2 separate regions of the Homo sapiens genome follow, and region 2 is linked to region 1. Evidence: promoter capture Hi-C in 16 types of primary human blood cells and fetal thymus (Javierre and others, 2016). All regions are on one chromosome and are shown on one strand. Each heading gives the region's core, a stretch centred on a gene start or on the middle of the fragment in contact. The rest is flanking DNA. Distances are from core to core; before and after follow the strand shown. Region 1 holds the start of TMEM259 (transmembrane protein 259). Region 2 holds the start of PRTN3 (proteinase 3).

Region 1 (6,519 bases), core at 4,020-6,519:
TCCAGAACCCTCTGTAGACTGAGCAAAGGGCCGAGTCAGCAAAGCAACCCACTTCCAGCCCGGCCGCAGTGCTGTGACCTGTGGGAGGCCCTGAGTCTGAGCACGGATAAAGCCCTGGGTCTAGCCGCACGTGCACCTGGGGCGAGCCCCATCACACTCCCCAGCCCCAGGAGCTGGAGAATCCCTTGGGCTGATCTGAACTGCATTTCTAGTCCTTACAGCCAAAAGAGCCGCAGGGGATGAAGGCTGGCCCGGCGCTGAGATTTAAGCAGAAACAGGCAAGAGCAGAACCCTGACCGCCAGGCATTCAGGCCCCGCCCACAGACGCCGGAGCTACAAATGAGGGGTGGGCGGGGGGAGGGGGCAGGGCCCTCTGCTGGGGAGGGTTCCCCTGTGTCCTGGGGAAGACAGGGAGGGCAGTGTGGAAGGGGGGCAGCCCCGGAGCCTGAGATGCTTTCAAAGCCTAGCGTTTCCCCATATGGCATCTGGGGACAGGAGCCACGGAGGCTGGGCCCAGTGGTGGGTCACGGTCAGAGACACTGACCCCACAGCCCCTCGGCTCAGCACTCTCAGGAGAGAGGGGCCCGCGAGGCCCATGGTGGATGCTGCTGGTGGCCACGCTCTGCCTTCCAGGCCCACACATCCAGCAGGAGCTGTGCCCAGGACAGCAATGGACCCTGTGCCAAGATGTTCCAAAAAGTGCTGATACACAGTGGGCCGAGGTCGGGGCTGTCCAACGCTTCACAAGGGACGCACGGCTGTTACCATCCCTGGTTTATATACGAGGAACTGACACAGAGGTCCCGACAGACCTGGACCTGCTGAGGTCACATGGCCAGGAGGGAGGGGCCAGGGCAGTGCCAGTCTGCACAATTAAGGCCCCACGGGGAAGAGCAGCTCCTGGGGTTGCCCTGGGCAGGGTCAGCTTGGTCCAGGGTCAGCGGGAGAGGGCACAGGACACACATCCTGCCACACCCAGCACTGGTGTGAGTGACCCGTCCCATGAAGACAGCGGACGTGATGAGAGGGCACCAGTGTTTTCACACAATGTGCACACACTCCAGTCAAAGACTTCAAGTCCACCAGACGCTATGACTCAGACGTCACTGTGTCTCTGCCCCATCAGGTGCTCCGTGCTGACCGAGCTCAGGGCCCCTCTTCCCTGACTGAGCATGACCAGAAAAATGCCCCACTGGACAAGGCCCGTTGCCGCCAAAGCCTCAGCTCCCCTTCAGTCTCCCACCACAAAACAAGGAGCAGGCACCACCCAGCCAGACGCAGGCTCATCCCGAGTCCCGGGTCCTCCTCCCCAAGACCTGTCTGTCATCAGCCACCCTGCAGCAGCCACCTCACCAGGCCCGGCCCTGAGCCACACGCCCAGGCAGCCTCGTCCACGCCCACAGTAACCCTCCCCAGGGAGCTCACCTGCAAATGCTCCCATGGGCCCCTGGCCACCCTCTGCCCGCAACCTGGCTCAGCCACTCGCATGCCCTGGGTGGTCCAGTCCCCTACACTCCATGACCCTGTCCCTGACCCAGGCTCCCCAGCAGGCACCCACATGCTCCAGCCCCACGGCCTTCCCACACGCTCTCCAGCTGCCTGGACACCCCACCCCATCCCACTGGCTGTGGCTCACCTCCAGGAGGCCCTGCCCACCCAGCACAGGAGTCACCCCACCCCTATGACCCTTCCTTCCTCCGGGTCAGCCCACACACGGCTGCACCCACAGGAGCACCTCCCCCAGCCTGGGGCCGTGCTCACCGCCTCCTCCAGGAAGCTTCCTGGATGTTCTGGCCGAGGCTCTCAGGGCACCCCAACACTCGGCCACTGGGTGGGCCTTTCCTTTCCTGTCTCCCCACAGACCTGGAGTGCCAGGAGCAGCCTGCCCGCTCTCTGGGTATTTGACTGACCCACAGACCGACGGACACACAAGCCCGCGGAGCCACACTCTCCTCCCAGGTGGGACACAGAGCCCTCAGCCCCAGCCAGGAAACACTACCTGGGGCTCCCCTTTGTCCACCCGGGGTGCTTCCTGCCTCCAGGCCACCGGGGCCTCTCCTTCCACTGCAGCCTCACAGTGGCCTCAATGTGACAGGTCCCCCATTCAGAGCAGGGCCCCTGGGGTCTCACATACCCCGTCTTTAATCGTCACGACCCCACAAGAGGAGCCCCATTACTCCCTGTGGCTAGGCGCGGGCCCCTGCCCATGTCCAGGGGTGCTGAGTCGAGACCCCTTCACCCTGTGGGCATCCACTTGGTGGTCACCTGGGTCCAGAGCCCAACCGCACAGGTGCAGGCACCCAGTGCCCCAAGATGGACAGTCTCTGCCACACTGGGCTCAGGGCCATGAAGGCCAGCAGAGGTGGATACTGAGGCTGGATGGAGGTCTCCCGAGGGCCCCTGGAACACAGGCCCCTGCCGCCTCCTCTCTCCCCAGCACCTGGCACTGCCTGGCATTTCCTAAAGCCACCCAGGCATGGATGAGGGACCGGGGGGCTCCATGCTGGCTCAGAGCTGGGAGATCCTGGCATTTCCTAAAGCCACCCAGGCATGGGTGAGAGCTGGGGGACTCCATGCCAGCTCAGGGCTGGGAGCTCAGCTGCACAGATGCCACAGGATGAAGCCACCTTGAAGGGATCATACCAGGGAGGACCTGGCTCTCTGCAGGGAGACCCCCGGAAGCCAGGCAGGCAGGAAGCAGAGGAGCCTTCTGGAACTCAAGGCAGCCTCTGAAATCAGGCAGTTCCAGCCTGCACTTTGCAGATAAGTAAAAGTGAAGGCAGCAGGGTCAGATTCTGTGCCACCAGATTACCGGGTGGAAAATTCACAAAGAACAGATTTCCCCACCCAGGCCAGGCATGGTGGCTCACGCCTGTAATCCCAGCCTTTTGGGAGGCCGAGGCGGGCAGATCACCTGAAATCAGCAGTTTGAGACCAGCCTAGCCAACATGGCAAAACCCAGTCTCTACTAAAAAGACAAAAAAATTAGCCGGTTGTGATGGTGGGCACCGGTAATCCTAGCTACTCCGCAGGCTGAGGCAGAAGAATTGCTTGAACCCAGGAGGTGGAGTTTGCAGTGAGCCGAGATCAAACCACTGCACTCCAGCCTGGGTGACAGAGCAAGACTCCATCTCAAAAAAAAAAAAAAAAAAATTCACCACCCAGAGATCTCACAGTCCAAAGCCCTCTGCTGAGAGAGGAGGGATTGGGGTTACTGAGAACCTCCCAAGAGTCTCCACCCTACACAGAAGACGGGGAACTCCAGCTCTGGCCCAGCCCCATCTGACCACCTGTGAGTGGTATTGGCCTGGAGATGGAGCCGGGTAGGCTTGATCCCTTTCCAAACCGGGACATGGTGGGACCAGGGCCCAGGCGACAGGGATGCACCTCCCAAGGAGGCTGAGCTCCGTCGGGGGAACCTGGCCTGGCACCCAGCACACACCCTCCACAAGCCTAAGGACACAGTGGCTCCATCCTGTTCCCAGGCTACTCCATGGAAGGAAAACCCACGTCCACAGACCAGCCTCCGTCCACAGTTTCAGGCCCCGTCTGTGGACCCCAGAGCCGGGAAAGGCCGCCTGCCTGCGTAACCCTTCACAGCCCTGCTCAGGTGCCTACTGAGGCGACCATGCCACTCTGGGGGGCTGCAGGGAGGAAGGTGGGAAGGATGATGGGCTGAGCTCTGGCCTGGGGAGGCACGGATCTGGAGGCTGGGGGGCCTTCCGTGAAGTGGCAGCAGGCTGGGACCCACACCCAGGTCCGCAGGACGGCCAAGGTCCAGCTCCACTTGCCGAGCCCAAAAAAGCAGCCAGCTCCTGACCAACCTGTGTCAGGCTGGGAACTTGCCCACGATCGCAGCCTGGCCCGCCAGCATCGGACCCCTCTTTGCAGGCTAGATCCAAAAAGCTCACGGCGCAACTTCAGCAGCCCCCAAGCCCCGGCGCGGCGGTGTTCTGATGCAGAACGAAAACGGCCACGTCCCCATTTCGCCAGGTGGCCCAGGACCCCGGCCAGCTTGTTTTCTGAGGGGCTGCAGCTGCTACTGAGCCCCTCTTGTCACCCAAGCAAGACTCCTTCTCAGAGGGAGTCAGGCCGATGCCTGTCCTGCACGGCTGAGACCTCTGCCATCTGAGGAGGGCGGGAGGGGGACAGAGCCCAAGACGCGGAGGCCGGTGCCTCATAGGGGAGGCACGGGCGACAGACCCACAACCTGAGCTCCTGAAGCAGGAAGGGAGTGGGGACCCAGCGGAGGAAGAGGCCGGGGATGGGGTGGTACGCTGCTGCCGGTGACTTTGCCGCTAACCCTAGCGAGGTGACCTCAGCTAAGTCACATTCCCCTGAGGCTCAGGAGCGGGGAACGCAGCTGAAAGGCTACAAGGAGGGAGAGAGGGGAGTGGGGAGTCGACTTCCAGGACAGGGGTTGGTCCGAGGGAGACCTGCGTCAGGCTGGGTTCTGGGCCAGCACATTGGGAGGGGAGAGAGGCCTCGGAACTGAGGGTCTCAGGCGGCACAGTCAGGGGTCAAAGGGCGGGAGGTGCTACCTCGCAGGCCAGGACCGGACTCCAAGCCTGGGTAGGTGGGGACCTGGGAAAGGCGGTCGCCGGGGACAGGATGGGCCCTGGAGGGAGCTGACAGTGAGGTTTCCAGAGTAGAGAACAGCGGCTTCTAGTGCAGCGGGATCCGGCCTTCCCGGGTGGACGTCCCCGGGCGGGATGGGGTCACGAGACGGTGTCCCTGGCCAATCCCAGGGTCAGAGGTCGCGAGGGAGAGCCCTAATCGGTAGGGCCGGGTATAGGCCTCAGGGTGCAGGGTGGCGCTCGCTGTCCCCAGCGGGGCCAGGGGTCGCGGTCGGAGGTAGCAGACTTGGGGGTCGGGACAGCCGCTGGGGTCAAGGGTCGGGGGTCGGGGCCGCGGTCACCTTGAGCAGCACGAAGAACTCGAAGAGACGGCGGAAGGCGGGCGGGAAGAGCCGCGAATAGGTGACAGCCATCTTGAAGAACAGCGCGTGGAAGAGCCGGTCGCGCACGTTGATGAGGGGGTTGGGGTTGAGATTGGGGGTGCGAGGCCCGCGCGCGGGGGCCGGGCCGCCGCCGCCGCCGTTGGGCCCGGGCCCCGGAGCTGCGGGCTCCACGTGCTCCGACATGCCTCCCAGCGTCGCGCCCTAACGACCCGCAAGTGTCCGAGGGCGCCTCCCGGCCGCCATCGGCCGCCCTCGCAGCCGCCGCTCTCCTCACGGCCTCCCGGCCGCCGCCGCCATCTTCCGCTTTCTCGTCCGGCTGCGGCGCTGCTGACGCTAGCGAGTCGCCACGCCGGGCAAGAGCGGCCCCCCTGCGCCCGCAGAGAACGCTGGGATGCCAGCGGCGCCCGCGGAGGCCTCACCCCCTACCTCGGCCGCTCCAGGGGGCGGGCCTGCATCTGGGCCACCTCTTTTGCATATTGGCACCCACAATCCACCGCGGCTATGAGGCCAGTATAAGGCGGTAAAATTACGATAAGATATGGGATTTTACGTGATCGAAGACATCAAAGTAAGCGTAAGCACGAAAGTTGTTCTGCAACATACCACTGTAGGAAATTATGCTAAATATGAAACCGACCATAAGTTATCCTAACCAAAAGATGATTTGATTGAAGGGCTTAAAATAGGTGTGACAGTAACCCTTGAGTCGTGCTCGCTTCGGCAGCACATATACTAAAATTGGAACGATACAGAGAAGATTAGCATGGCCCCTGCGCAAGGATGACACGCAAATTCGTGAAGCGTTCCATATTTTTGCTGTAGTCTACAGCTCGTCACCTCGTTTGGCTTCTCTTGCCCGGATCCTGCCATGACGTCACAGGGCCAGTAACGTCATAGTCTTCCCGTGTCCATCTCCTGTGGCGCCACTAAGGTTGGCGGTAGAACAATCTGGCAGTCTCTACTCCTGCGTGGCGCTGTGCCACCTGCCCCCGTAGCTTCGCGCAGCAATGAATAAATAAGTGCTCTTCAGGGGCACTTACTGAGTGCCGGCTGCGTACACAAGAGGATACTATGGTTTTTGGGTTTTTTGGTTGTTTGTTTGAGATGGATTCTCGCTCTGTCGCCCAGGCTGGAGCGCAGAAGCGCGATCTCGGCTCTCTGCAACCCCCGCCTCCCGGGTTCAAGCCATTCTCCTGCCTCAGCCTCCCAAGTAGCTGGGATTACAGGCATGCGCCACCACTCCAGGCTAATTTTATATTTTTAGTAGAGACGGTTTCTCCATGTTGGTCAGGCTGGTCTCGAACTCCTAACTTTAGGTGATTTGCCCGCCTAGGCCTCCCAAAGTGCTGGGATTACAGGTGTGACCCACCAAGCCCGCCAAAAAAAAGTTTTGTGTTGTTTTTTTTTTTTGAGACGCAGTCTCACTCTGTCGCCCAGGCTGGAGTGCAGTGGCGTGATCTCGGCTCACTGCAACCTCCGCCTCTTGGGTTCAAGCAATTCTCTGCCTCAGCCTCCTGAATAGCTGGGATTGCAGGCTTCCGCCACCACACCCGGCTATT
Region 2 (5,671 bases), core at 1,741-4,240, 180 kb before region 1:
TGGGACTACAGGCGCCCGCTACCACGCCCGGCTAATTTTTTGTATTTTTAGTAGAAACGGGGTTTCACCGTGTTAGCCAGGATGGTCTCGATCTCCTGACCTCGTGATCCGCCCGCCTCGGCCTCCCAAAGTGCTGGGATTACAGGCGTGAGCCACCGCGCCCGGCCCACAGCTCTAGTTCTTTAATACACATCAGGTCGGTCATGGTGGCTCATGCCTGTGATCCCAGCATTTGGGGAGGTCAAGGCAGGAGCGTCCCTGAAGGCTGGCAGTTCAAGACCAGCCAGGGCAACATAGCAAGACCCCATTTCTACAAAAAATTAAACAGCCAACCAAAAAAAAAAAAAAAAAGAAAGAAAAACTTTAGCTGGACATGGTGGAGCATGCCTGTGGTCCCAGCTACTTGGGGGGTTGAGGCAGGAGAATTGCTTGAGCCCAGGAGGTCGAGGCTGCAGTGAGCCATGATTACACCACTGCACTCCAGCCTGGGTGACACAGCCAGACCCTGTCTCAAAAAATATATATGTATATTTTAAAATATTATATATTATATAATGTAAATAATATACATGCTACATATTTTATGTATACATCTATGTTATATACATTAATATAGCCAGGTGCAGTGGCTCACACCTGTGTTCCCAGCACTTTGGCGGGATTACGGGCGGGTCACCTGAGGTCAGGAGTTCGAGACCAGCCTGGCCAATATAGTGAAACCCCGTCTTTACTAAAAATACAAAAAAAAAAAAAAATTAGCCAGGCGTGGTGGTGGGCGTCTATAATCCCAGCTATACAGGAGGCTGAGGCAGGAGAATTGTTTGAACCCGGGAGGCGGAGATTGCAGTGAGCTGAGATCGCACCACTGCTCTCCAGCCTGGTGACAGAGCGAGACTCTGTCTCAAAAAAAAAAAAAAATCCAAAGGGGAAAACAGTAACTGGACAGTGCAGGAACCGGCAGATGCCCTGACCACGTGGTCAAGGTTATTACCATCAGCACGAGACAGGCCGAAGCCATGGGCTTCGACGTGGGGGGCCTGAGACAGACACACGCCACGCCCGGGACTCCCTCCATTGAGTCCTGAGGCCACCCAGGACCATCCCCACGGAGGGACGCTCTGCAGAGTGACCACCAGCTCTCCTCAATGGTCCCAAGGGCTGAGGGAGGGCAGAGGGACTGCGCCCGCTGGAGGAGACCCTGACATCTGAAGATGGGTGGCTTGTGTACCCAGGACCCAGCAAAGGGTGGCTGGTGATACTCAGGGGGCTGGGGCAGAGGGGGCCATTTGGAATCAACTTTCGCGCCCTGGCTTCGATCACAGCCTGGAGGGTTGAGCAAGAGGACAGAATTTAGGGAAGCTGGGGGAGGGAGGCCGGGGGAGGGAGTTTGGGGAGCGGGGAGGGAGTTTGGACCCTTTGGACTTCTGTAAGCGTGAAATCCTTTCCAAATGAAACGTTAAAAAGCTTTTTTTCTTTTTGGCCTCCAAGTTCATTCAGTGCTTCTCTCCATTTCACTGTAGGTTTAAACCGTTCAGTTATAAATAAATAATTTTATCCTCTGTCCTCGGCTTTCCCCCGTTTCCGGCACTGCAGACATGGGGGCTGGATTTGTCTCTGCGGCGGGGCCATCCTGGGCACTGCAGGGCCCTGCCAGGAGCTCCCTCCAAGTCGTGACAACCACGGATGTCTCCAGGCCTCACACAGGGACCCCTGGGGGCAGAATCACCCCAGGGTTAGAGGATTCCACAGACCCCAAGAGACTCTGAGTCCCATGATCCTCTGCCCTGCTGAGGTCCCAGGAGGCTGCACACATTGAAATCCACACCCTGAGTGGGAGGGAGAGAGGAGGCGAGTCCCGGGAGCTGGGGTCCCCCGGGTTTATGCCGTACGCCCCATCGGGAGTTTATTCTGGTGTCCGGTGTGAGCAGGGGGCAGACTGGATTTTTTATTTTTTATTTTTATTTATTTATGTTTTGAGATGGAGTCTTGCTCTGTTGCCCAGGCTGGAGTGCAGTGGCACGATCTTGGCTCCCTGCAACCTTCGCCTCCCAGGCTCAAGTGATTCTCCTGCCTCAGCCTCCTGAGTAGCTGGGACTACAGGCGCCCGCCAACACGCGCAGCTAATTTTTGTATTTTTAGTAGAGATGGGGTTTCACTATGTTGGCCAGGCTGGTCTTGAACTCCTGACCTCAGGCGATCCACCCGCCTCGGCCTCCCAAAGTGCTGGGATTACAGGTGTGAGGCACCGCACCTGGCCATTTTTTTCCCCAAATAATGAACACTGGTCTCTCCCCTGGGCCCTGTGGACATCGGGGCTGGATCCTTCTCTGGGGCAGGCCCGTCCTGGGCACTGCAGGGTGCTAGGCATCATCCTTGGCCTCCACCCACTCCATGCCAGGAGCTCCCCTTTCGTGACAGCCACAGGTGTCCTCAGACCTCGCCCAGGGTCCCCTGGGGGCAGAATCACCTCTTGATTGAGAATCCTGGCCTTAAAGGGGGAAGAAAACCCCCAGACAAAACTGGCAGGAGGATGTTCGCTGGGGCCTCAGGTGAGGCACTGAGGGCACTCGTGGTGGGGCCCTGCCTTCCCGAGCTCTGCATCCTGTCCCCTGCTACGTCCTGCTGTCTGTCCGTTTCCAGCTCACCCACCCACGGGACACACCTGCCACGGCCGGCTTTGCTGGGGCCACAGGGACCTCGTCAGGGAGGCGTCTCCTTGTGGGTGGCACGTGGGCATGTGTTGCTCTGAGGGCTGTGGCCATGTTGCCCACCTGGCCAGGGACCCCCGACTTGGGTGGGTGACAGCCAGCCTCCCCGCCCCCACAAAGGTTGGGACCTTGAGCCCAAAGCCCCCACCTCCTCCCCGGAGTCCGTTCTGACTCCCAGGCTCCCAAGGCAAAAGGAGGAAGTGGGGACCCAGCCTGGGCATTGGGCAACTCAACGGCCTCTGGCATTGGGCTATAAGAGGAGCTTGACCGTGGGTGCACCCTGGACCCCACCATGGCTCACCGGCCCCCCAGCCCTGCCCTGGCGTCCGTGCTGCTGGCCTTGCTGCTGAGCGGTGAGTGAGCCACGTGCCCATCCATCCAGCCTCCAGGCCCCGGTGGATTGTGGGGAAATATCCACCACGAGGTCCATCCAAAGCCCTTCTGGCACAGCTGGGGAAACTGAGGCAGGGTCAGGGGAGACTCCACTCACTGCTCGGGACCAACGCTTGCAGGGGTGGGGAGGACAAGGGCAAGGGGGAGCCCTGGCCATTTGACTCAGTTGCCTATCTGTAAAACGGGCAAAACCCAGCCCTTCCCTCCTGAGGAGCTGTTTTGGGAATTAGCTAGTAACAGGCGAATTCCTGGACAGCACCCAGCCTTCAGCAAATGCTCAGTGAATATGCATGAATGAATGAATGAGTGAATGAATGAGTGAGTGAGTGAATGAGTGAACAAATGAATGAGTGAATGAATCAATGAGTGAGTGAATGAATGAGTGAATGAGTGAATGAGTGAACGAATGAATGAGTGAATGAATCAATGAGTGAGTGAATGAATGAGTGAATGAGTGAATGAATGAGTGAATGAGTGAATGAGTGAACGAATGAATGAGTGAATGAATGAATGAGTGAGTGAGTGAAAGGGTCGAGGAGTTAGTGATGCTGGAATCAGGGGAAGAAGAGAGCATGGGCCCCCTCAGGTCCCTATCCTGAGGGTGATTTTCTTTTTCTTTTTCTTTTTTTTTTTTTTGAGACGGAGTCTCGCCCTGTCGCCCAGGCTGGAGTGCAGTGGCGCGATCTCGGCTCACTGCAAGCTCAGCCTCCCGGGTTCACGCCTTTCTCCTGCCTCAGCCTCCCGAGTAGCTGGGACTACAGGCGCCCACCACCATGCCTGGATAATTTTTTGTAATTTTTGTAGAGACGGGGTTTCAAGGTGTTAGCCAGGATGGTCTCGATCTCCTGACTTCGTGATCCGCCTGCCTCAGCCTCCCAAAGTGCTGGGATTACAGGCGTGAGCCACCGCGCCTGGCCCTTTTTTTTTCTTTTTTGAAACGGAATCTTGCTCTGTCGCCCAGGCTGGAGTGCAGTGGTGCAATCTCAGTTTACTGCAGCCTCAGCCTCCTGGGGTCAAATGATTCTCCTGCCTCCGCCTCTTGAGTAGCTGGGATTACAAGCACACACCACCACACCTGGCTAGTTTTTGTATTTTTAGTAGAGATGGGGTTTCACCACGTTGGTCAGGCTGGTCTCGAACTCCTGACCTGAGGGGGATTTTCAATGCCTCAGTTTGTTCATCTGCAAAATGGGTCTCTTTGTTGGCTGATTTTTTTTTTTTTTTTTGCTTCTTTTTTTTTATTTTGTTTTGTTTTGTTTTTTTGAGATGGGGTCTCACTCAGGCATGAGCCACTGCGCCCAGGATTTTTTTTTTTTTTTTTTTTTTTTGAGACAGAATCTCACTCTGTTGCCCAGGCTGGAGTGCAGTGGTGTGATCTCGGCTCACTGCAACCTGTGCCTCCTGGGTTCAAGCGATTCTCCTGCCTCAGCCTCCCAGGCAGCTGAGATTACAGGTGCGAACCACCACACCTGGCTAATTTTTTTTTTTTTTTTTTTTGAGACGGAGTGTCATTCTGTTGCCAGGCTGGAGTGCAGTGGGGCGATCTTGGCTCACCACAACCTCCGCTTCCTGGGTTCAAGCGATTCTCCTGCGTCAACCTCCGGAGTAGCTGGGACTACAGGCACGTGCCACCACGCCCAGCTAATGTTTGTATTTTTAGTAGAGACAGGGTTTCACCATGTTGGCCAGGATGGTCTCCATCTCTTGACCTCAGGTGATCCACCCACCTCGGCCTCCCAAAGTATTGGGATTACAGGCGTGGGCCAACCGCACCCGACCAATTTTTCTGCTTCTTTAAAAACATTTTTTTAAATTTTGTTTTAGAGACAGGGTCTTGCTCTGTTGCCCAGGCTGGAGTGCAGTGGTGTGATCTCAGTTCACTGCAGCCTTGACCTCCTGGGCTCAAGCGATCCTCCCTCCTCAGCCTCCCAAGTAGCTGGGACGACAGGTGCACACCACCATGCCTGGCTAATTTTAAAATTTTTTGTAGAGATGGGGTCCTCACAATTTTGCCCAGGCTGGTCTTGAACTCCTGAGCTCAAGGGAGCCTCCTGCCTCGGCCTCCCAAAGTGTTGGGATTACAGGCGTGAGCCACTGCACCCAGCCACCTGGTCTGCGTCTTAAAAGCCTTCCTGACTCTCAGGACTGAAAGCTGCCACCAGGGCGCCTTTGGAAATCGTCGTAATTATAACCCCCCCGGCCTGGGCGCTGAGTCCTTCCCACCAGCCAGCAGGCACTGACCGGGTTGCAGATCGGGAGACGGAGGCTCGGAGAGGCCCAGGGGCTGCTCTGCCATCCCCCCTTTCCCTGCAGCCTGGGGGCTCCCTGACGCCTGGACTCCCCCCCTGCAGGTGCTGCCCGAGCTGCGGAGATCGTGGGCGGGCACGAGGCGCAGCCACACTCCCGGCCCTACATGGCCTCCCTGCAGATGCGGGGGAACCCGGGCAGCCACTTCTGCGGAGGCACCTTGATCCACCCCAGCTTCGTGCTGACGGCCGCGCACTGCCTGCGGGACATGTGAGCGGCCGCCTCCACACCCCTGTCCGCCCGCCCCGCCCTCTTCCTCCAGC

What was found. Contacts are between HindIII fragments. The CHiCAGO score rates a contact against its expected background, and 5 or more counts as called.
Region 2: a contact is called between the fragment with the promoter of PRTN3 here and the fragment with the promoter of TMEM259 in region 1, in 5 of 17 cell types (monocytes, total B cells, M0 macrophages and 2 more). The highest score is 8.1, in monocytes.

Annotation. Positions count from the first base shown.
Region 1 is chr19:1,015,854-1,022,372 of GRCh38, forward strand. TMEM259 (transmembrane protein 259) reads right to left here and starts at 5,270. Exons shown (of 11, transcript NM_001033026.2): 1 at 4,919-5,270. The coding sequence starts at 5,143. It overlaps RNU6-2 (RNA, U6 small nuclear 2), which reads left to right and starts at 5,669; the gene lies at 5,669-5,775. RefSeq lists silencers at 2,554-2,773, 5,032-5,091, 5,122-5,191, 5,352-5,461 and an enhancer at 3,157-3,756. The HindIII fragment of the contact is 5,187 bases long and covers 1,776-6,519 here.
Region 2 is chr19:838,009-843,679 of GRCh38, forward strand. It overlaps PRTN3 (proteinase 3), which reads left to right and starts at 2,991. Exons shown (of 5, transcript NM_002777.4): 1 at 2,991-3,061; 2 at 5,453-5,618. The coding sequence starts at 3,001. The HindIII fragment of the contact is 23,301 bases long and covers 1,463-5,671 here.